Regions from separate parts of the Homo sapiens genome. Here regions 2, 3 and 4 are each linked to region 1. The links are contacts of gene promoters, found by promoter capture Hi-C in human tissues and cell types (Jung and others, 2019). All regions are on one chromosome and are shown on one strand. Each heading gives the region's core, a stretch centred on a gene start or on the middle of the fragment in contact. The rest is flanking DNA. Distances are from core to core; before and after follow the strand shown. Region 1 holds the start of BLVRA (biliverdin reductase A). Region 2 overlaps HECW1 (HECT, C2 and WW domain containing E3 ubiquitin protein ligase 1). Region 3 overlaps HECW1 (HECT, C2 and WW domain containing E3 ubiquitin protein ligase 1). Region 4 overlaps HECW1 (HECT, C2 and WW domain containing E3 ubiquitin protein ligase 1).

The links. The method cuts DNA at HindIII sites, captures the fragments that hold promoters and counts their contacts. A contact is called where the count stands out against the background at its distance.
Region 2: a fragment that was not itself captured here is called in contact with the fragment with the promoter of BLVRA in region 1 in 2 of the 25 tissues and cell types used here (IMR-90 fibroblasts and mesendoderm cells).
Region 3: a fragment that was not itself captured here is called in contact with the fragment with the promoter of BLVRA in region 1 in 1 of the 25 tissues and cell types used here (H1 embryonic stem cells).
Region 4: a contact is called between a fragment that was not itself captured here and the fragment with the promoter of BLVRA in region 1, in 1 of the 25 tissues and cell types used here (mesendoderm cells).

The regions. Positions count from the first base shown.
Region 1 is chr7:43,756,242-43,762,165 of GRCh38, reverse strand. BLVRA (biliverdin reductase A) reads right to left here and starts at 3,486. Exons shown (of 8, transcript NM_000712.4): 1 at 3,432-3,486. It also overlaps the pseudogene LOC107986727. RefSeq lists silencers at 3,062-3,381, 3,392-3,781 and a cis regulatory region at 4,803-5,570. The HindIII fragment of the contact is 11,547 bases long and covers 1-5,924 here.
Region 2 is chr7:43,299,269-43,306,017 of GRCh38, reverse strand. The region is part of intron 3 of HECW1 (HECT, C2 and WW domain containing E3 ubiquitin protein ligase 1); the gene reads right to left. It overlaps LOC102724903 (a long non-coding RNA gene), which reads left to right and starts at 5,707. Exons shown (of 3, transcript XR_428133.5): 1 at 5,707-6,084. RefSeq lists an enhancer at 1,292-1,792. The HindIII fragment of the contact is 4,198 bases long and covers 1,651-5,848 here.
Region 3 is chr7:43,493,477-43,499,583 of GRCh38, reverse strand. All of the region lies in intron 19 of HECW1 (HECT, C2 and WW domain containing E3 ubiquitin protein ligase 1), which reads right to left. Among named protein-coding and RNA genes, the nearest start is that of LUARIS, 26 kb to the left of the region's middle. The HindIII fragment of the contact is 3,285 bases long and covers 546-3,830 here.
Region 4 is chr7:43,407,116-43,413,197 of GRCh38, reverse strand. HECW1 (HECT, C2 and WW domain containing E3 ubiquitin protein ligase 1) reads right to left here. Exons shown (of 30, transcript NM_015052.5): 8 at 5,467-5,636. Among named protein-coding and RNA genes, the nearest start is that of LUARIS, 110 kb to the left of the region's middle. The HindIII fragment of the contact is 6,695 bases long and covers 1,003-6,082 here.

The DNA.
Region 1 (5,924 bases), core at 2,237-4,736:
ACATCATGCAGAATGAACTACAGCTGTGACCTTCCTCCTTGTTCCTCCTCAAACGCCCTCTCAAGTATCTATTATTGCCCCAAAGCCAGGTGACTCACAGAAGTATGGGGAAGGATTAGGGAGAGGGTGACCCTCTCAGGTGGGGCCAGCTGCCAGCCTCAGAGGTCTAAGGGTAAAGGTAAAAGCAACTCTTGCCCTGGAGGGAGTTGGATACTTTGGGATCTATTGAGAAAAATATAATAGCTACATGGGACACAAGTCTGGAAATATATACATCAAAATATTACCAGTAATTATGTCTCTAAGTGGTGAAACTTTTAGTGACTACTTTCTTTTTGCTTCTCTGTACACTTTAAACTTTTCTATAAAGATTAGTTAACATAATTATTCAAAACTCTAAAAAACATTACAAACTATGCCACTTTCACTGACTGCATCCCTCCTAGCCCCAAACTGAACAGACTTTCACAGGGCAATAACATATCAAGGTGCTCTGATAATGAAGTCCACAGAAAATTTTCCCTATAACTGAGAATCAGGAAAGGCTCTGCTTCCTTCAAGGCCATTAACATTTGGGGGATCAATGAATGAATGAATGAATGAAGTTGCCATGTATGTTTTACTTTCAAAAGACAAGAACCATGTAACTGACCAAGTTTACCTTTCTAGAAACAAATTTGGGACTCAACTACAAAAATATAGGCCTGCAATGACCTATAAGGGAGCCGCTACACAGAGTGGCTATTGGAATATAAATTAATTAAATATAGCACATTTTCATAATCACAGAAAATTCTATTGGATAACACTGAAACACTTCATTCTTTTTTTCCCCTGGAATAGTTTCTTGTACTTATACTTTCTCTCATCTCAATTCCTGGCCATATTTATCTTCTATTTATTTGTTACTATTCTGTGATTTTGTTGCAAATGACCTTAATTCCTTTGTGGATCAATTTGGGGCATTGTACTTTGGAAATATCAGTGTGTATATATGTCACTGTTCCTGAGAGTTCAACCTTCATTTCTGACCATAAGGCAGATCTAGCAGCTCATGTAATGTAGCTATTTCCTCACAGCTCAAAGACGGAAGAGAGGCCGGGTGAAATGGCTCACGCCTGTAATCCCAGCACTTTGGGGAGGCCATGGTGGGTGGATTACTTGAGGTCAGGAGTTCGAGACCAACCTAGCCAACATGGCAAAACCCTGTCTCTACTAAAAGTATAAAAATTAGCTGGTCATGGTGGTGCGTGCCTGTAATCCCAGCTACTTAGGAAGCTGAGGAATGAGAATCACTTGAACCCAGGGGGCGGAGGTTGCAGTGAGCCAAGATGGCGCCACTGCACTCCAGCCTGGGCGACACAGTGAGACTCCATCTCAAAAAAAAAAAAAAAAGACTCAAGAGGACATTGTCAGGAACTAAGCTCCCCTGTCACAAAGGCACTATATTCAGTGTTTTTTTTTTTAAATACACAAAAAGGTATACACTGTCCATTAATGGAAAGTTTCACTATTTGATTAAAGCTTAATTTGAAGCTGAGTAATGCAATGTCTTTTTCAAATTCCAAAATACATGGCTATCAACTTATTTCTAAAATCTTAAATATATGATTTACCACAAAAAACAAATGGCCCAACCTGTTACTACTGATAAATATATGATCATGTCATCAGAGTCCTGGATACGCCAAAGAGAATCAGAAATGAAAATGCGCGCAGCTCCTGCACAGTGGGATTCCCTGTCAGCCCACGGTTCTGATGGAGTGTCGCCTCTACATAGAAGTCAGTGCAATTTTGAGTATTTTACCAGATTTTCAGTTCTAGAAAAAATGACTGGGAGTAATAAGCAGTGTAGATCAAAAACTAAATACAATTATAACAAAGATGAAAATTAATAGATGTGGCCCAAAGTGGCAAATCTTTGACTTTAATCACATGCTAACTGGATAGGCAGGGGGTACAAAGAATAAAAAAGTAAAGATCGGCCGGGCGCGGTGACTCATGCCACGCCTGTTATAATCCCAGCACTTTGGGAGGCCGAGGCGGGTGGATCACCTGAGGTCAGAAGAATTGCTTGAACCCAGCAGGTGGAAGTTGCAGTGAGCCGAGATCGCGCCACTGTACTCCAGCCTGGTGACAGGGCGAGGCTCTGTCTCAAAAAAAAAAAAAAAAAAAAATTACATATGAAATGTGGGAAAACACACTGAGAATTATTCCTAAAAAAGTTGAAGTATAATTAGAGACCCTATTGTAATTTTTAGCTCTCTGGCTACAGAATTTCCCTTCTGATACTTTGTCTAACATTTGACTTGTTTTTCTGGAATGCATCCCGTTAAGGGAAGGATGAGCATATTTATCAATACAATCTTTTAGGAAATAATTAGGAATATACCAATACCTTTATTTCCATAATTTTAATATCTTCTTGGGAATCGTACTATAGAAATTACATTAATGATGGAAAAACTTTCAGCACAGTATTGCTTCCTTTGTAGGTGGTGATGATGACAGCTAACATTTACTGAATCCTTCCCATGCTGAAAACCCTATTGTAAGCTATTTATGTTCGCTAAGTCACTTATTCTTCAGGGCTATCCTACTAAGTAAGCATTATGATTACCCCCACTTTTACAGGTGAGAAAATCGAGGCAACAAGAGGTTGGTTAACGTGCCCAAGATCAGATCGCACAGCGGTATAATAGGATGGAAAACTCCTATCACATAATGAACGTTAAGTGAAAAAAATTAGTATCCAAAACTGTAAGTCTGATGTCTCATTCTTTTTATAATTTAAGTAGTTTATAAATACCCTCATTATTAGCCATATTTCTGAGCACTTCATATGTAGAGTGCACTTTACAGAACACTGTCATGTAACCCTCACACCGTCTACGAAATAAGTGATAGTTTCCAGTTTCCAAAAACGAAAGCGGGGCTAGGAGAGGCCAAGTGCCTCGCGTGGCGCCTCAGGATTCGCCCCAGCGGAGCAGACCCCAGGGCATCCCAGGCGGGTCCCGGCCGAGCTAGCGGCCCTGCGGTGGCTACGCCCGGGCCCAGCCGCTCGCGCTCCTGGAGCCGCCGGACTACGCGGCACGCGGACGCCGAGCCTGCCCTCTTGGGTCTACATAAAAACCGAAACTACGGGCAGTCTTAACCGAAATGGAGACTTAATTTTTTAGACTGTCTTTTGTGTAGTTGAGAAAGCCCCTTGCCGGGACCCGCGCTGCTGGGCCTCCGACCGCGTCCTCACTCCGGGCCCGGGCGGGGCGGGGCGGGGCAGGCGGCGCCCAGGCTGCGTCCCGGCTCTGGCGGCCGCGGGCCCGGGCCTCCTGCGGGCCTGGGGCTTCGAGCTCAGGCCCTAGCGCTCTATGGAAGCCGCGCGCGACCCCCGCTCCCCTGCGCGCGACCCCCGTTCCCCGCGCGCGCCTCACCTGACGCGGGCACCGCTCTCCGTGCAGCCTCCGGGCGCCACCGGCTTTGCGGACCGGGGCGGGATCCCAGCTCCGATTGGCTGCCCGGCTGGGGGGCGGGGGCCCCGAAGCGGGGTGGCGGAGACCGGGAGGGGACCGGAGGCGGTGGGGAAGGGAGTGGACGGAAGGGGAGGGAGGGTCCCGGCCTCGTGCGGTCGCGCGTGAGATCCTGGCCTCTGTGCCCTGGGTCTGGCGCCTGGGGCCGTAAGAACCGTCCGTGCGCCTGCCCTGTTCTCTGCACCCAGCTTGGTGGCGAGGGGTGGGTGGTGGGTGCCGGCCGACCGGAGGGCGTATGGAAGTGGCTGGGCCCCCTCACGGTGTGCCTGGCCCCCTCACGGTGTGCCTGGCCCCGGCGTGGGGGGGGCAGGCCCGGGGGGTGTCGCATCTCTCTTATCCGCCCCCCACTCACCACGTAGAACCCACTGGATCCCATTGGTATTTAGTGGCCCCGGGCCGACTGAACTGGCGCCGAGGCTTACCTGAGTCCTTCCTGTAAATGTGAGGAGCGGAGGGAATATTCCAGGAGGCCGGTGTCTGCGATGTCCTGCTCTTGGGTAGCTAGGAAGTAGTGAACGTGGTCTAGGGAACTGCCTGGGCTCTTATCCACCTGGGAATGGGTTTGTTGGGGATCCTGATGTGGGAGAAGCCAGGGAGCTTCTAGCCTAGTGGGGCTAGGGGAGAAAACAGGGAGAGGGGTGGATTAGGCTGAAGGAAAGAGATCTCTGATCTTAAAGGCAGCGTTCTGACGGGTAAGGTTGACTGGCATTTTCCCCAACAAAGAGTTCTAGTACCGTATTCCATGACCTGACAAGCCTGTTTAAGTGAGGTTTTGTTGAGTGCAAAGAGAGAAGGCTTGGCTTTGAATTTTTATCTCCAGGCGGGACCTGCCTCCTGAACTCCATACTCCTCTATCCAGCTGCCTCCTTAATACCTCCTCTTGGATCTCTAAAATACATTTCAATCTCAACACATCCAAATCTGTGCCCCTGATCTCTTCCCCATAGCATCACCATCTCGATGGCAACTCCATCTTCCAGTTGTCAAGGCCAGAAACCTTGCTGTTTCAGAAACCTTTCTCTCACATCCCACCTCCAGGGCCCAAAAATTCTGTTGGTTGGATCTCCCTAGCATACCCAGAGCCTGACCACTTCTTACCTCTGCCTCCATCATCTGCTACCTGGGTCATGACAGTGGTCTCTTCCCTGATATCCCTGCAGCCTGTCCCCATAAAGCAGCCAGAGTGACCTTAAAAAAAGAAAGCCAGATCAAATTCCTCCTCTGCCCAAAACCTTCCCAGTGGTTTCCCAAACTCAGAGTAAAACCCAAAGCCCTGCCTGATCTGCTCCTCTGTTACCCCTACAACCTCATCTGCTACTGCCTCCCCACTGGCTCACTCTGCTCCAGTCACTCTGGCCTCCCTGCTATTTCTTATGCAAGGCAGACAGGGCTCTGCTGCAGGGTCTTTGCACAGGCTCCTGTCTGTTTGGAATGCTCGACTACTTCTCACTCTTCCTGATATTTTCTCAAATGCTGCCTCATTGAGAACTACCCTAACCACTCCATTTGAAATTGCCACCTGCCCCACTCCTGAATGACTTATTTCTTTAGCTCCTGACTGAATTTGTTTATTTAGCTTATTGTTTGTTATCTGTCTCTTCCATCCACCCCTCCCTGCTGCTGCCCCTTGGGTCATGATATGTCCTTTCTCGGAAAAATAACTGCCACTGATGAGGTACCATATTTTCACTGGCAAGGCCTAGGACATAAGCCAAACTCTGGGGTCTGATTGTGCAGTCACTTTAAATAAACCACAAGAGAAAAGAGTGATTCCCCAAAAGGACATGCTGAGTGCTGCTGCTAGGAGAAGGGATGCTGGCTAGGCAAAACCACAGATGTTCACTTGCTGAGTCAGACCAGTACACCCAGAGGAGCTTTGGGAAAGCCTGTGAGAGGGGCCCTCCATGTCCTTGAGAGCAGAATTTAAAGATGAGACCTCTAACCCCCTCACTTTCTTGTAATGATGTGTTATGAATGCATTGATTTATTTATCTTATCCTTCTAAAGTCTAGTTTTGTATTCAGTTTCTACTTTTTTGAGTAAGAGCTTCCCATTCTACAAAGTAGTGACTCTCTTCAACCTGAAGAACTTTGTGGGAGGTTGGGGGGACAGTAAGACTGCTGTAGGCCACAAGTGACAGAAACCCCACCCAAACAGATTAACAGTTAGGAGGTGTATTAAGGCTCCAGCTCCATTTCTGTGTCATTCTCTTAGCTCTTTTTCTCCTATGTGTAACAAGATATGAAAGTATAGATTTTGATTAGGACAACAAGATATACTAATGTGAAATTCTAGGAAGAGATCTCCAAAGATGTAAGAAAGAATCAGGCGGGAGCCACCTGTAATCGCAACACTTTGGGAGGCCCAGGCAGGCAGGTCGCAGCCTGGGCAACATGG
Region 2 (6,749 bases), core at 2,500-4,999, 460 kb after region 1:
GAGGCTGAGGTGGGCGGATCATCTGAGGTTGGGAGTTCGAGACCAGCTTGACCAACATGGAGAAACCCCGTCTCTACTAAAAATACAAAATTAGCCAGGCGTGGTGGCACATGCCTGTAATCCCAGCTACTTGGGAGGCTGAGGCAGGAGAATCACTTGAACCCAGGAGGCAGAGGTTGCAGTGAGCCGAGATCGTGCCATTGAACTCCAGCCTGGGCAACAAGAGCGAAACTCCGTCTCAAAAAAAAAAAATTAGCTGGGCGTGGTGACGGGCGCCTGTAATCGCAGCTGCTGAAGCTGTGGCAGGGAGAATCGCTTGAACCCGGGAGGTGGAGGTTGCAGTGAGCCGAGATCATGCACTGTACTCTGTGACAGAATGAGACTCTGTCCCCCCCAAACAACAAACAACAACAACAACAACAACAACAACAAAACACTATCCAGTTTCACTATTCTCAGGTTGCTAGAAAACCCAGCTCAGAATGTTAATAAAAATTCTGAGGTCATCCATCGTGTGGCAGGAAATGGGGATTTGAGCCTGTTTATGGGCGATTATAAGAGGGCACTTTTATCATTCTTAAGCATTCTCTCCAAATTATAAAACAGATGGACAGAATTGCAGTAATTGAGATTCAGATACTTCTCTGAGCTTCTCGGCAGCCAAGAAGATAAAAGGAAAGCTTAGTTCTTATGATCAGAATACAGGGACTTTTTTCTTCCTCCAAGTTCTTAACGAAATGTTTCATCTTAGACTTTCTGTAGGAAACACAATGAAATGTGGTGAGTAAGATCTTAAGAGACTTTTAATCACGATTATAGTGGCAGATTCCTGGTACAAGGCTTTGACAAAAGCCAAGGTCATCGCAGGAAGAGAGTTCATTAGGGACTGAGCGACTGTGCTGTGTTGCCTTCCGACCACATTCCAAAGTCTACCTGGCTCAGTCACTTCTAGGGGAAGCTTTACCCCAAAGCTTCCACTCTGAACTCAGTGACTGTTCTCAGTCCCGCAGCTTCCTCTCTGGCCTCAATGGAGATTTCGATCAGAGCCTGAATGAGATGTTCTGTCTAAAACTGCCTTACCTGTCAACTTATTTTTTGTCAGTCCCCTCTACTTAGAAGGCAGGCACCAAGACAGCAGCCCAGCCTAGCTCCTTTAGGTCTGCATTTCCAGCAAAAGTAGTGCCTGGCAAGAACATAGATGATGCTCAGTAAATACTTTGTTGAGGCTGGGTGCTATGGCTCACGCCTGTAATCCCAACACTTTGGGAGGCCAAGGCGGGCATATCACCTGAGGCCAGGAGTTTGAGACCAGCCTGGCTAACATGGTGAAACCCCGTCTCTACTAAAAATACAAAAAAATTAGCCATGTGTGGTGACACGTGTCTGTAATCCCAGCTATCCCAGGAGGCTGAATCAGGAGAATCGCTTGAACCAGGGAGGTGGAGGCTGCAGTGAGCTAAGATTGCGCCACTGCACTCCAGCCTGGGTGACAGAGTGAGACTCCATATCGATAAATAAATAAATAAATAAATAAATAAATAAATAAATAAATAAATAACTGTGTTGAATGAATGAATGCACTTGTGGGTAACGTGTGGGCTGGGGTGCACCTGGACATGGGGCTCTGCTCCTTGAGCTCAGGAATTCTTGTAAGCACTAGGCTTGGTGCCCAGAATTGCTCGAATTGAGTTCCTGGTTCCTGGACTGCACTGGGATGGGTCAGGTGTCCGGATGCAGGACCAGCAGAAGCACCGGGAATCCCTGAGGCAGTACAGGAGAAGTGGGGATGGCCTGGGTTGGAGGGTTTGGAGACAGGCCAGGGCAGCTTTATCCAGAGCTCTACTTGCTGCTGGGCCCTGCTGGTCCTAACAGTCTAAAAGCAGAAACCTCCTACCCAACCCAATGGCAGGCACAAGAGATCACAAAAATCACTGCAGCCCACGCATTTCCTCTGAGTCACGACTGTTAAGGGAAACAATTCGTTAGGCTAAAAAGAAGGGCTCCACCTCTCTGGGAATTGCCTTCATCACCTGTCAAATAAGAAGAAAGTGTTGGGATGAGATTAAATACTGCCCCTGGGTCCTCCTCTCCCTCTCACATCCTGAGATTTGAGTCCTGCTTACCCATTTGTACCTCTGCTTGGGAACTGCTGTGTATGAGGGATGTTGTGGGACAGGGGCGGGTGTAGGGGCTCTCAGGTGTAAGGGAGGAGAGTGGGAGGTGGCTGCTAAACCACCATCTCTGTCTAACTCTTCAGCTCCCAGACACCTGTTCCTGAAACCTGTGCCTCAATTTGTGCTTTCAGCCTCAAAGCCATGTGCTAAAAAAGCTTTCTTTTGTGCTGGCCATTGTGTGGAAGAATATCACAGAATTACATAAACTAAATTGTGTGGGCTTCTTTTCTTTGAAAAAGAAATAAAATCCCACTCATTGCTGGCTGAAAGGGAACATTAGGGGGAGAAAATTTTAATAAGCAAATCAAGCCAAGCCAGATAATATCCACACAGGAAGTCATGATTTAAAATACAAGGAACTTGTTAAAATGCCAGTCAGACACATTATTTTAGGAACACATAATGCCTTATCGCTCATAAAAAAAAATCCACCAATAAGTGTAAGGTTGAACATCCCCTCCCACTTTTGACTCTGCAGCCCTTTGATGGCAGGTGTTGGGGGGCGGGGGGTGGGGTGGTCTTTGCTCCTTGTCGCTCGCACACCATTCTCACTCACACGTAAGAGAAACCAGCTGGAGGCCAGGCTCCAGGAGGGGCATGATTGGACCATTCACTGCTTTGCTCAAGTCTAGGACTGCTTGGTGCAGCTCTGGGTTATTTGGGAGGTTTATGTTTGGAGGCGTTCAGCAGCGAAGTTGCTGAAATCTGGGTGGTTTGTATGGGCAGAGGAATGGGCAGGGGGCTGTGGGTGTGGGAGAGGGAGGAAGGTGGCAGCCAGGAGGGCCTCGTCAGGTTAGCTGGGGCAAATTCCTGTTCATAATATTTAGCACCTCCTCTGGTTTACACAGAAAGGAAAGGTGAGAACTGGTATTCCTGTGTGTGTGTGTGCGCGCATGTGTGTGTGCACGTGTGTGGGTGTGTGTGGTGTGTGTGTAAGACACAGAGACAGAATGAATGGGAACTTACAGATGTGAGAAAGAGACCCATTTTTCCCTTCTCAATGTTAGGAAATACTGTTTCTTCCTCAGGAAGGCACTAGCCTGATTGAAAGTGGAAAAGTTTCCTCTTTACCTACTGATACCTGCAGAGGAAAAGGATATGTGTTCACCTCCCAGAACCACAGTGCGGCTCCAGGGGCCCAAGGCGCCCAGCTCCAGGAGCCCTGCGGACCATACAGGAGAGAAAGGGAGGTGGAGCTGCTGTGAGCCAGCCACATCATCCTCCCGGGGCGGCCCCGTACCGGGCATTTGTGAGGAGCCCCCATGATGACCTCAGCCTCACTCCATCCTGAGCCCAGCAGGGCTTGTGCTGTGCTGAGTGGGGTCACTGTGCCTCTTCCCGTAACCAGGGCACCACCACCTGCTTGGCTACAGTCCAGTCTCCAAAAGCCAACCCACAATACTGTGAATCACACAGGAACCCACAGTGACAGTCATGGGAGGGTTCTGGGCCAGCCCCTCCTCTTATTCACCGGGAAGCTGAAGCCTGAGAAGGGCAGCTGCCTGCCCTGACCACGCAGCAGGGGAGCAGCAGGGCCCCAAGTGGACCTTGAGACTCCCTGCGGCCAGTTAGCTGCCTCATCCATGGCCTGAGCTGCCTGGCTTGGGAGGGAGCCTCAGGCTTGTTGAGAAGCCTGAGGAGCCTCAGGCTGTTGTAAGCCAGTGTGTTTCCCTCCTCCATTCATGGTCGTGTCCTCATTTGCCTGCTATTAGGTGATGGGGCCAGACAGGGATTACAGTTCTAAGAAATACACTTAGGAGGGTTTCAGATGCAGTGCTGAGTTTGTATCCTCATTGAAATTAATACTCAAAAGCATGTTATCATTTGTCATGGAGGATCAAGGTGCTGTAAAGATGCTCTCTTTTAAATTCTTATATCCCCTGGGTGGTTTGACCCAGCATCTTTGGGTTTATTTTTAAGTAAATCCTGTCTTTGGTTTTATTCTCCTGCTTCTTTTTTTTTTTTTTTTGACAGAGTTTCCACTCTTGTTGCCTAGGCTGGAAGGAAATGGTGCGATCCCAGCTCACTGTAACCTCTGCCTCCCGGGTTCAAGAGATTCTCCTGCTTCAGCCTCCCGAGTAGCTGGGATTACAGGTGCGTGCCACCGTACCTGGCTAATTGTTTTGTATTTTTAGTAGAGAAGGGGTTTCACCATGTTGGCCAGGCTGGTCTTGAACTCCTGACCTCAAGTGATCCACCTTGACCTCCCAAAGAGCTGGAATTACAGGCGTGAGCCACTGCATCTGGCTTCTTCTTCCTTCCTTTAGCCCAGTCAATCAGGAAATGTGGATGGAGTCTTTAGTGTGTACCAGGCCTTGTGCTAAATGCTGAGTATGGATACAGAGAGGACTTAAACAGTGCTCATAGCCTCGGAGAGTTTGGTGCAGGAGGCAGACATTTAAGCAGTCAACTATGACACAATGGTGAGGGCAATAATGGGGTGGTGGGCATGGTCCCCCCTAGAAGGGAGAGAGATGCTGGGACCACCTTCCCAGATGGGAGGACATGGAAGCTGGACCTGGAAGGAAGGGGCAAGAGCTGAGGGAAATCCAATCTAAGCAGAAGGAACTTCTCGTGGAAAAGCGTATCTTTACTAGAAGCATGCTGAGCTTCCAGATTCAGCAGAGCTCCTCTTAGCTGTCTGCCAGACAGTGTTGGGGGCAGCTGGAAGTGTGTGAAAGGGGTCTCCCATGGCACACCAAGAAATAAGACCTTCTCCATTGGAGAGTGGGGGGCCACGGAGGTTTTGTTCACCTTAGAAACTTCACACTGCAGCAATGAGGGGGAGAGCAAGGTGGACAGAGCTGCTGTGTCTTGGGGAGCCCAAGTATAGCTCTCCTGAATGCCAAGGTCTACATGCAGGGAGAAGCTTTACCAATCAAGTGGTCCCTCAAGTCTAAACAAGTGGCACCGTGGCAGAAGTTACTGACAAAGTAGCAGGGGCGGCTCCTGGGCGGGTGCAGGGACAGTGTGCAGCTCTCACATCAGTGTGGGAGGTCATCGTACCTGCTTTTCCAGATCACCCATCAAGCCAGAAGAAGGCCCCATGTTGGACTGCAGCTCTGATAAGTGTGCCAGTCATTGGGATTATGAACCATAATGCCCATCATCAGTACACAGTGGGGTTGAACCAGCAGCAGCAGCACTTTCCTTTTGTGATCAAAGTGCCCCGGATGAACACGGCCATATCTGATATAAATTCAGTGTTGATGTCTCAGAGCATTTATGAGAGCAACTTAGAGCCATGATGAAGAGTGAAGCAGGCATGGCCGTTAGCAATATAAAGTCATCTCTCTCTCCTACATTTCATACCTATATTGGCAATATAAAGGAATCTCTCGCTCCTTCCACCCTTCTTCCACCCTCTTCTATCCCTCTTCCACCCTTGAAAGGAGACAAAGCCAGTTCATATTCCAGATGGGGCCACAGGTAGCACGTTCCTTCCCAGGTTCCTTCCCTGTCATCACTCTGCCCACTCTTGTGCTCTTTCTAGCTCTAACTGTCACTCAGTTCCAATTCTGGCTGCCACACGCCTTAGCCACACCAGGCTGCACCATCTCAGCAGCAGGCTGTGATAGGAGGACTGGCAGAGGTGGTTTACCTCAAGAGATTCCTATTGGAAGAGGAAGGAAATAAGGAAGAACTGGCAATATATGTATAGAATAGGCCTATCTGTAGTGATTTAGGATAGAATGGGGGAATTGAAAGGATAAGGAGGAGAATTAACCCACCAGCACCTCCGTCAAGCTCTCAACATTGATAGAAGAAAGAAATCACAACGAGGCAAAGACAAAGCCTTGCTTTTTAAGTGAGCCACAGCAGAATGGACACCTGTCTAACAGAGTAAGAGCTCCATGGGGAAAAGTCCAACAGCATCAAGATATCCCTGTGATCAAAACCAGCAAATCAGGTGACCTAGATGAGTGGCATATTGCTTTATTAGCAATTATTCAGGGGAATGGTAAAAGAAAGGAACAATTCTATTTTGAAAACAAAAAAATGGGATTTGATACTCAGCTCTGACAGCAAAGGAGAAATGATCACTAAGACTCTGTGATGTGGGCTGGGAGTGTGGAGGAATCACCTCAGTCCAAAGTTTCACTGGGTTCTAGAAGAACATTAAAAGGAAGGGGACACTTAGCTACTATGATTTCTTAAACGTCTCAGGCGACACTTACTGCTGAAATTCTTTAACATATTTAACAGAAAGTCTCTTCTGACATTTTCCACACAGCTAATCTTTCTGATTTTTCAGAGCTAAAAGGAAGGGACAACAATTGAGGCAGTTTGGAAACTTTTTTTTTTAAGTCTTTTTCTCAATTATGCAGGACTAAACTTGGAACCTTTGAACTCACGGACAAAAGCTATAGTCTGCTGTGGGATTTTGGACAGTATTTTCAATTTTACAGATGAGGGAAAAGGCACGGTTTTCGTGCAGTCCATCTCTATTGCTTAGATGCCCGTGACCATCTCCTAAGCTTGTCTCTGATACACCAAAGATGCACCAAATATACACCAAAGATACCGGGAAGGTACCAGCCCCACGGCCTCTCCCACCGATTCCGGCCTCGTGGA
Region 3 (6,107 bases), core at 939-3,438, 260 kb after region 1:
TATAAGAAATAAACAGACAGATCCTGTATACCCCTCACTCAGTTTCTCCCAGTGGTAAAAGATGGATGATTTTCTTTTCTTTTGTTTTCTTTCTTTCTTTCTTTCTTTTTTTTTTGAGACAGAGTCTTGCTCTGTTGCCCAGGCTGGAGGGCAGTGGTAAAATCTCAGCTCACTGCAACCTCTGCCTCCTGCGTTCAAACGATTCTTGTGCCTCAGCCTCCTGAGTAGCTGGGATTATAGGCATGCACCGCCACACTCAGCTAGGTTTTTGTATTTTCTTTAAAAAATTTTTTATTTTTTTGAGACAGGGTCTCACTCTGTTGCTCACTCTGCAGTGCAGTGACCTGATCACAGCTCACTGAAGCCCCAACCTCCCAAGGCTCCAGTGATCCTCCTGCCTCAGTCCCCCCATGTAGCTGGGACTACAAACGCACACCACCAGGCTTGGCTAATTTTTGTATTTTTAGTAGAGACAGGGTTTCACCATGTTGCGCAGGCTGGTCTTGAACTCCTGGGCTCAAGAGATTCGCCTGCCTCAGCCTCCCAAAGTGCTGGGATTACAGGCTTTAGCCACTGAGCCTGGCCCAAAAGATGAATGAAAAAAAAAATCTATTTTCCAAAATACTGCAGGTACAACTTTTTCCTCTCTTTGATTATATTAATATAAATCCAAATCTTCATCATAACTTAGAGATTTTCAGGCAAAAAATATAGTCAATTTGACCTTTTGGTATGGAGATCTTTTTTTTTAAGGCAAGGGAAGATTTTGAGCCTCTACAAAGATAGACAGAATGGGATTAAACAGGGAAATGCACTCTGATCCAACTTCAGTGCGGGTGAAGCACCGTTGCAGGAAATGGCATCACCAGAACCTGGGGGGTGTTCACAGTGGCTTCTTTGACTGGGTTGAAAAAGGGAGCAGCAGTGTCCACATGTCATTTAGCAGGGAACATGTGAAAGCCCAGCAAAGAGAACAGAACATCCCCATCTCTCTCATCACCTTCTTCTCCCTCTGCCTATGTCCTCAACCCCAGCCCTGGGCTTTCTCCTCCAAATCCTGACACCACCTCACAGCCCCGTTATTTGGAAGATGCTCTTGAATCTTCTCTAATTTAATGATTTTGGCCTTATGAATGACCTCAAATCTATATGCTCTCCCAATGATAATGTACCCTTGGGCAGGTTATCCTCCTGCCCCAAGGGATCAACATCTGGTTAAGCCACTGGCCTCCCTCCCTGCGGGAAAAAGAAGCCCAGAGAGGGCCATCTCCACTAGGGCAGCAAAGTGCAGTCCCCAGTTTAGAAAGTGCCACCCAGCACAGTGGTTCTATCGTGGCACCACCATATGGACCACATCCAGGTGTCTGAATGCTAAGCCCGATTTTCTGAGAGTTTTGGTGGCTCTCCACCAGACATTATATCCTCTGTCATGTCTGGCAACATGTCATGCATAGCCAGTGGTGTAAGGGACCTCCAGATGCCCCTGGGACTCCATCCCAAAGTGCACTGAGAACTGAGGAAGCCATCTAAGGGCAAGAATGCCAGCTGTCTCTCCTACATATATCCCTTGACCATCGGGAGAACTCCAGAGCACACTTTCCCTAGAGTTCAGGACAGGACAGGCGACTGCCTCCTTGACATCTTGACATTTGAAGCCGCTTGTGGCTTCAAAGACCTCAAAACTCAATATCCAAAATAAAATCCTTGACATTCTTCCTCTCCTCAAGCCAGTTCCTCCTCCACTCTTTCCCATCTCAGTAAATGATGCCATTATCCATTCACCTGCACAAGCCCCACACTTGGCTGTCATTCTTAATTACTCTCTTCTCCTCACCCACCATGTTCAAGCTGTCATCAGCTCCTGTTGTTTTTGCATCCACAGTATCACCCCAAACTGCTCCCTTCTCTTCATCCATATTTTCCCATTATCCACACGACCATCATCATGGATGAATATAATAGTCTCCTGCATAGCCCCTGTTCCATCTTATGCCCCTCCCCAGCCTATCTTTTCCCCACAGAGCTGCCTAAACATTGCATCTGTGTTTTTAACGACCACAGCTGCAATCATATTTCATTGGTGGTCATGAAAAACAGATGAAATATGATTGCATCTGTGGTCACTAAAAACACAGATGCAATCATATTTCTTTCCAGCTGAAAACTTCTCAATCACTTCTCAAATAGAATCGCAATTCAAATAAAATGTTTCCGGTTGGTGATAGGGCCTCCCTCTCCAACTTCACCATGGTAGGTCTCACCTACCCTCCCAATCTACTCCTGGGCCACACTAGCTTTCTTTCATTTTTCACCTACATCTAAGCTTTTCCTGCCTCAGGGCCATTGCATACTCTCTCCCTGATCTCCACTTTGCATCTCAAGGGACAATGCCTTCTCATCCTTCAGGTTTCAGCTTAAGCATCACCTACCTGGAAAAGCCTTCCCTGTGTTCTGTTTAGGATGTAAGTCCTCTTCCTCTGCACCAGCATATTATCCACTATTGCTGAATTCTAATCATGTTCTTCATGGCACTTAACATATTATGCAGCTGTATATGGCTTAAAAAAACAAACCCCAAGCTTGTCTATTATCTGTCTCCCTCAGTAGATTGTAAATTCATTGAGAATTTACAGGTCTGTTTCGCTTGCTACTGCATACATAGCCCTGGGACAATCCTGATTCAGATGAGTGACACAATCAAAGCACTAGTTGAAGGACCACCTCCATGCCCCTTGAAGATAACAGATGCCATTAACCTCTGGGTTTTCTGGCTCCATCCCCTTCTCTACATGTGGCTTCCTGCTTTTCACCGCAAGTCACTGCTGTCAACTGGACAGTTTTCTACATACTCAAACCCAGCAACTGGCTTTGCAGACCCAAGACAGAGACTCCATGACTCCCTGAGAATAGCAATGGCTGAACAGGGGTCACCATCTGCTCTTGGGGACCACAGAGGAAGCCATGAGTTCTTCTGGGTGGGGTCCTGAGGAGAGTGGTATTCTCTTCAACTCCTGAACCTTCAAAGTGGATCTGACTCACCCTGACATGGCACTCAGGGGCAGGTGGATGCCTCCTCATGGAAAGCAGGGCCTGGCTTCCTGCATCTCTTAAGCTTGACCTCCTGAAGAACAAGTTCTTGCTCTTTGCTTTCTGCTGTTTTAGTTCTATCATCACATAGTCCAGTTTCTGATAGTCATCGTGAGCCTTCTGTTTTTGATGAAATATTTGGGTTCTCAACCTGGGTCCACAGTTTCCTTAGGGTCCATTAACTATTTGAAATTATATTCAGAGGTTTATATTTATATGTGGAGGAGAGTCCATAAGTGCTTCCATCAGCATCTCAAAGGAGTCCATAACCTTAAAATAGGTTATTAGTTTCCATACTAGATAATTTCCAAGTTTTTTTTCCAATTCCAACGTGGCCTGATTTCAAGTTCCCCCAGCTCTGCAAAATCATAATTGTACAATCCCATATTGCAACAAAACATTTAAAGTTTCTTGGATTGTTGTAATGTGATATATAATAGGGATGAAAACAGTCTACTGCCTTTTGGAAATACATTCCACTCACTTATGTAGGGAATTACTTAAAAAAAAACCTTTTCTAATGATTAAAATGAGACTTTTGTGTCTTTGGTGAGTTGAAATTCTTCCACAAAGCAAGCAGTGAACTCACTACTTAATGGTAGAATCAGTAACGTAAAGAATGTTCAAGAACAACCACGCGTCAAAAACCCTTAAGATAATACAACATCCCTGGAAATCCCTTGAAAATTCCCTTGGGTTGTTAGGTGAGTCAAAGAGCAGCCCATGAATGAATGACCCAGGTGGCTGAATATGACTCTGCCTTCTGCAGCAGTGCAGTAATGAAACCAGGGGAGAGAATTCTTAAGAGTTGAACATAAATGAAAGTGGCCATTCATCACGCTAAAGATCACTTGTTCATGCTAAAGATCTTTCATTCACTCTAAAAGTAATTGGTGTTTCCTATTTTCAAAGTAGAGGACCAGGTTGTAAGGGGCAGAGTGGGCACAAAGACAAGGAAGAGAAAGGCCTTGCTCTAAAGAGCTTAGAGTGCTGTAGGGAGACACAAGTAAATGACAGAATACAAGAGATCTAAAAATATCTTCGAGGCACAAAAAGCATACTATCAAAGCAAGACAAAAGAAATACTAGGAAACCATCATTCTCAGCAAACTAACATAAGAACAGAAAACCAAACACTACATGTTCTCACTCATAAGTGGGAACTGAACAACGAGAACACATGGACACAGGGAGCGGAACATCACACACCGGGGCCTGTTGGGGAATGGGGGCTAGGGGAGGGATAGCATTAGGAGAAATACCTAATGTAGATGACGGGTTGATGGGTGCAGCAAACCACCATGGTGCATGTATACCTGTGTAACAATCCTGCACTTTCTGCACATTTATCCCAGAACTTAGAAGTATAATAAAAAAAATTAAAAACAAACAAACAAAAAAACAAATGCCATGGTAACATCAGGAAGTTCCCACCCCCTCAAAGAAAAAGAAATACTAAAGCTTGCCTAGATCACTGAAGTTTTGCTTTTGATCTGAGCCTTTAAAACGGGATGAGATGTCCTTAATAGGGAAGTCATTCCCGGAAAGACAAAGGCAGGAGAGTACGCAGCCTGTGTGGTGGAGGTGGAATACCCTGGAAGGAAAAGCTTAGTGCAGGATGGAGAGTTAGGTTAGGGCCAGACTTTGAGACCATGGACATTATGCTTAGAAATCTTGACTTTAGGCTGGGTGAGGTGGCTAACACCTGTAAGCCCAGTACTTTGGGAGGCTGAGATGGGTGGATCCCTTGAGGTCAGGAGTTTGAGACCAGCCTGACCAACATGGTGAAACTCCACCTCTAATAAATGCACAAAAATTAGCAAAATTTTGCTGGGTGTGGTGGCACATGCCTGTAGTCCCAGTTACTTGTCAGGTTGAGGCTCAGGAATTGCTTGAACCTGGGAGGCAGATGTTGCAGTGAGCTGAGATTGTACCATCTCACTTCAGCCCAGGCAACAGAGCAAGACTCTGTCTCAAAAAAAAAAAAAAATCTTGACTTTATTTCATATGTGATGGAAACCATGAAAGCTTTTTTGAAGGGTAGGGAGGTCATGATTTAATCTATGCTTTACGTAGGTAACTCTGGTTATGATAGGGTGATAGGGAATATTTTAGGAGAAACCCCTGTATGGTCCAGAAGAGAGATGATGAGCACCTAAACTTGAACCATGGCAGGGAGAAGAGAAAATGAGGATGGAGGAGAGAGTATGAGGAGGTGAATGTTTAGGTGTGGAGGTGGAAGAAGAGGGAGGAGAGGAGATCAGGGACAGCTGGGAGGGTAGTGGCTCTAATTTACAGAGTGAAAATACAGGGAAAAGAGGTGTCAATGAGGGGGTGTTGGAGGGGAAAGAATAGTGAATGATCCATTCTGGCGGGAGTGGCAAGGGTTGAAAAGCAGAGACTACTTGAAGCTGTCAGTGATTCCCCGAGGAAGTCGGAGTATGGTATTGCAGGTATCAGCCCCATTCACAAGACTGCACCACATGGGCAGGGAATAATGAAATGCAGCCGTTGATGGGATTCTAGCCTGCCCTGCCTTAACCTTTACACATCCTCAAGTAAGTATTGCAACCATGCCCACTTTGTGACCCCCATTTGGGAGACTAAGGGCAGAGAGTTGAATAACACGCCTCCATCAATAGTCCCTACCTGTTGGAGTGAAAATTCAAACGTCAAAGAGATGTACTCTTAACCCCCATGCCTCTCCAGATTTTGGAACGTTGGAGAGTAAACCGAAGGAAAAAGATGTTTGAATATTTTGGTGAGAAAGCAGGATTTAAGTTCAGGGAATATTTTCTCTTTTTATCATTTCAGATCGCTATCCCTTCCACATGTGATTCAGAGTTTCAGGGCACTTGTTCAAAAATGACCCTAATGAAGCATAAGATGTAAGTAGTTAGAACACACAAGAAACTTTTTGTTTGCTTTTTTATTTTCGAACACGGCTGCTCAATATTTGGTTTACCGTTCAACAATTATATTTCAAAACTAAAAGTAATTTATACAGTGCTGTACATAAA
Region 4 (6,082 bases), core at 3,101-5,600, 350 kb after region 1:
TCAGAGAAATGCAAATCAAAACCACTATGAGATACCATCTCACACCAGTTAGAATGGCAATCATTAAAAAGTCAGGAAACAACAGGTGCTGGAGAGGATGCGGAGAAATAGGAACACTTTTACACTGTTGGTGGGACTGTAAACTGGTTCAACCATTGTGGAAGTCAGTGTGGCGATTCCTCAGGGATCTAGATTTAGAAATACCATTTGACCCAGCCATCCCATTACTGGGTATATACCCAAATGAGTATAAATCATGCTGCTATAAAGACACATGCACACGTATGTTTATTGCGGCATTATTCACAATAGCAAAGACTTGGAACCAACCCAAATGTCCAACAATGATAGACTGGATTAAGAAAATGTGGCACTTATACACCATGGAATACTATGCAGCCATAAAAAATGATGAGTTCATGTCCTTTGTAGGGACATGGATGAAATTGGAAATCATCATTCTCAGTAAACTATCGCAAGAACTAAAAACCAAACACCGCATATTCTCACTCATAGGTGGGAATTGAACATTGAGATCACATGGACACAGGAAGGGGAATATCATACTCTGGGGACTGTGGTGGGGTGGGGGGAGGGGGGAGGGATAGCATTGGGAGATATACCTAATGCTAGATGACGAGTTAGTGGGTGCAGCGCACCAGCATGGCACATGTATACATATGTAACTAACCTGCACAAGGTGCACATGTACCCTAAAACTTAAAGTATAATAATTAAAATAAATAAATAAATAAATAAATAAATAAATAAAAGAAATGAAAAGCATTAGAAATAGGAAATGTATGGGGAGGCATTAAGGACTATATTTTTTTCCTAGTTTCTTTAAAATACACATCCACTTAAAGCAAAAATTTTTAACATCGTCATGTAGGGTTTATAATGTATATACAATGTGATATATATAATAACTATAACAAGAAAGATCACGAGTGTGGATAAATGCAGGTAATATTGTTGAAGAGTTACTGCATTTTATGTAAAGTGGTACAAAATTAACTCAATGTAGATCATGAAAATATAGGAAGGTATTTTATGGTCCCTAAAGCAACTACAAAGGAAGTAACGCAAAGCCGTGTACCTAAAAATTCAGTAGATAAATTGAAATGAAATTCTAAAATATATTCAAATAATCCAAAAACAAGTCAAGAAGGGGAAATAAGAAAACAATCCAGAGGACAAACAGAAAACAAATAATAAAATAGTAGGCCTAAATACAATTACATGAATAAATATGTTAAATGGTAATGGGCCATTCATTCCTATTAAAAGGCAGAGATTATTGTAATAAATGAAATTAAGTCCGAAGAATATGCTGTCCATAGGCAATGCACTTTATAAGTAAAAACACAAACATTTTGAAAGTAAATGGAACAAACACTAAACATAAGGGAGGCTGGAGTGGCTATATTAGTGTGATAAAACAGCCTTCAAGACAAGGAGCACTACCAAAAATAAAGAAAAATATTTTAGAATTATAAACATGATGCATAGACATAACTATGCAAGTACCTAATACCAGAGCTTCAAAATACATGAAACAAAAGTTGACAGAATTAGAGAAACAGACAATTCCATGAACATAGTAAAGGATTTAAACATGCTTCTTGTGGCAACTGATAGAACAGCTAGACATAGAAAGCAATAAAGACACAGAGAATCTCTACAACTCAGTCAACCACCTTGACTCAACTGATATTTATAGGACTTGATATGCCACAATAGGAGAATATACATTCTTTTCAAGTTGATATGGTAAGCCTACCAAAATGCATCATATGCTGGACTGTAAAACATGGCTTGATAAATTTAAATAGATTGCAATCATATAGAGTATGTTCTCTAACCACAATAAAATAAAATTAAAAGTCAGTAACAAGAAGATATTTAGGAAAATCCCCAGGTTTGGAAATTAAACAACTTATTTCAAAATAATCCATGGGTCAAAGAAGGAATATGAAGAAATATTTTTGACGGAATGATAATAAAAGTATAAATTATATACAAATTTATAAAATGCAGTTAAAACAGAGATTAGAAGAAAACTTATTGCTTAAATAATTGTATTAGAGAATAAATGTAAGTCTAAAAGCAAGACCTAGACTTTTACCCTAAGGAGCTAAAAAAAAAAAAATAGAAGGCAATAAAGGAGATAAATAAATGAAAATAAGGGCATATATAAAAATAAATAGAAAACAGTTAAACATAGAGAAAATGATGTCAAGAGCTAGTTCTTTCACAAAATAAACAAATTTAATAAACCCATATTTAGATTGGTTAACAAACAAAGAGAAAAAAAGCAATTCACCAATATATAAATGAAAGAGGTATTGTCCTTAATAAGCCTACAAACATTAAAAGACAATAAAACAATACTTTGAACAACTTTATGCCAAACAACACAAAAAGATGGCAATATTTCTTGAAAGACAAATGCTTTCTCTTAGAAGAAATAGGTAATCTAAATGACTCTTTTTATTTAAAAGACTAAATTCATAATTTAAAGTCTTCTCACAGAGAAACTCCAGCCTAAGATGTTTTCACTGGTAAATTATATCAAACATTTAAGGAAGAAATAATAATTATACACAGACATTTCCAGAAAATATGAGGAGGAAAACTTCCTGTTGTGGACTGAAACCTGTTATAGACTGAATGTGTGTGTGTGTGTGTCTCCTTCCACCACCAACCCCCAAGTTCATATGTGAAACTCTAACACCCAAAGTGATGGTATTAAGAGGCCGGGCCTTTGGAGGTCATTACGTTTAGAGGAGTCATGAGGATAGGGTCCTCACGATGGGATTAGTGTCCTTATAAGAGTGTGCTCTCTTTCCTTTTCTCTCTTTCTAACGTGTGGATGGAGCAAGAAGGCAGCCATCTGCATCCCCAAAGAGGCCCTCACCAGAACCCAACCGTGCCAGCATCCTGGGCTCGGACTTCCCAGCTTCGGAACTTTGAGAAATACATATCTGTTGTTTAAGCCACCCAGTCATTTTCTCCCAGGAAGAAAATGCAAAGTCTTGCAAGGAGAAGGCTTTTTTGGCCTGTTGCTTTCTTCCTGCCTGGAATTTGGACTTGAGGCTTTAACAGAGGAGGATGAGGCCATCTGCTAAGGATGGTGCAGTGGCAGGCCCGGAGAGCTGGGATCCCTGGGGGCTCACTCAGCAGCGGCACCGCCTGGATCACCTCCCTCTGGATGTCTTGTTTGTGAGAAATATCAGAGCCAGCCAGACTTTCCCTTGCATGGAGCCAAATACATCCTTAACTGACATAATGGTAAGCAATGCCTGATCAAAGAAGGCTTTGAATGCTCTGCAGAGGAGCTATGACATTGACACTTGGACCCTGGGAACTGTAGTACAATTTAGGGGTTGAATGGACAGTTTTGCAGCAACACAAACCTTGGTTCAAATCTCCTTTAGCCAGTTACACACTGTTTAACTTGGGACATCAGTTATCCTCAGCCTGAGCCTTACCAGGGGGACATGAGATGAGGCATATTTTAGATCAATAACTCCAACTGCAGCACGTGGGATGGAAGGGAGGTGGCCCAGAGCAGAGGGCTGGGGAGAGTTTGCCAGTATTCTGCCAGAACAAAATCAGTGTTAACCAAAGCTTCAGAAATCATTTCAGAACTTAAAGTGAATTCTAGTTGACGTTTTTAGCCAAAAAACATTCTGATAGTGCTGGATTTTCCAAACATTCCCTGACACTTAAAACACCTTTATGACTAAATGTCTTAGAACAGGTTCCTCTAAAGTCCTTCAGAAGAGAGAAGCCTTTCCCCCCATACAAAATAAATTCTTTTGACATCTTTTATTATCTCTAGGAATGCAGGGAAGAGTTCAGAAATAATTGATGAACACAGGCAGGACTGAAGAAACAAATTAAGATTCATTATTCCATTCTAGCGGTGCTATCAGTGTTTTAGAATCTGTTGATAACCAACGCTAGGAGGAAGTTTAAGTACAAGTCTATTTCCCTCACGTCCACTTCAAAGCTCTAACGAAGCTCTTCTGGGAAGCCTGGGAGAGCGCTAATTAAGCCCAGGAAGGGGGTGGTATGATTTAATAGATAATAAAAAATCTTTGCTCTCATATGTCTAATTATGTTTTCTTGTCAAGGATGCTTGAAAGCTCTAAATCAGAGATGATCTACTCTGAAAAATAAAGGAAGAAATCCTCTCCAAAGCAAGTTCCTTTGGTGGGAGCACGTTTCCATCAATAATAGGCTGATGAGGGTAATCTAAGGCTCAGGTGGAGGATAACTGATCTCTCAAATTTATAAACTATTAACTGGCCACACTGGGATTAGAATCCAGGTTTCTATGACTGTAAAACTGTACTTTTAACCTACATTATACCCCATCCACTCTCATGACCTAGGCCTCCCCTCCCCTCAGTCACATGGTTTGGAGGTTATAGCTTCAAGCTCAGGTCTGGCAGGGAGGCAGCCAAATGGGTGGTGATGACTTTCTTTTTTCTTTCTTTTTTAGAGACAGGGTCTCGCTCTGTCACCCAGGTTGGAGTGCAGTGGCATGATCCCAGCTCACTACAACCTCTGCCTGTCAGGCTCAAGAAGTCCTCCCACATCAGCCTCTCCAGTAGCTGGGACCACAGGCACACACCGCCAGGCTCAGCTAATTTTTTTTTTTTTTTTGGTGGAGATGGGGTTTTGCCATATTGCCCAGGCTGGTCTTGAACTTCTGGAGTCAAGCGATTCACCTGCCCTAGCCTCCCTAAGAGCTACCTTGCCTGGCCAAATAAGTGGTGCCGACTTTCTACATGTCCTTTAGGAGAGAACTTGGAGGACCCTCCTAACCCCTGGCAAAGGCAACACTTTCAGGAGTGGAGAAGGGCCTTTGTAGACAACATAGACTATTCAATACTGTAGCAAGCTGCCCAGCCCTTTGCAAATCATGAAGATAGGATAAACCATTAGGCTTCATTATCTATTTAAATCAAACAATATTTAACCCAACCAGGGATATTTTAGGGCTTACTGATTCACCTATCCCAGGAACCTCCCAGTTTTAGAATCTCTGAAACTGGTCTAGAAGGCTATATTTAAGATTTGACACCCTTGCTCAAGGATCACATGCATGGGAAGAGCTGTGGAGAAACTGGAAGGCTCTGATCACAACTCTTGTCTTCCTTCTCCCACATGAAGGGCAGAGGGAAAGGCCGTCCTGCTCGCGGCATGGGTTCTGAATCAGAAGAGGCTACTGCATGCAGTGCAATGAAAAGTGTGTTAGTACTGTCCGGATGGACTTGATCAAGATCCCTGAGTTGCAACCCCTGGAGAACATGGCTCCCTTCTAAGACCATGACAGCCATAGATTGAGCAGCAGAGTCCAGGGCTCCATGAATGGAGGGAAGGAGGAGGGCTGGTTCACAGTCAGCCCTTTCACTTTTACTTGGGCTTTTTTTCAGGGCCCACAGCACTCACCTCGGCCTGCCAGATGGGGTTCACGGTGTTGCCTATGATCTTGGATCTCCTCTCCTGTCCATGGTGAGGGAGGGCGGGGAAGATGCTGTGTTTCCCAGGCTGAATGGAAATCTTCAGATAAGGGTCTGGGTTGAAAAACATCCCTTTCTTCAACCCCATGGCTTGGAAATCTATAAAATAAAGGATACTTTAATTTAAATATGTTTTAGGGAGGTTAACGACTGGCATTTGGTAACCACACCTTTCATGAGAGGACCATTGGCCCTTATGAACTAGATCTCTAGTGTTACTCAGGCAGGTAAACAGGCTGGGGTGAAGGAGTGAGGGTCACCCCAGGAAACGTGGGTAGCACAGGGAGAGAAAGTCCAACTTTGGAAATTTGATGGGTCCGGGTGTAAAATTCCTCTGCAAGGTGGAGACATTAAAAAAATAGGGGTTGTAGTCTCACGATATATGTGGGCCTCACTGAGTAAGGTGAGAGAATTGGCAGAAATAAAGAGAAAGGAGAGGATTAAAAGAGCACAGAGCGTGGACAATGGAGGAAAGAACAAACAAGACCTGGCCTCCACGGGGCTGAGTGCAGTCAATGAGGAGAGTTCTGAGAAACCCTGCTGCC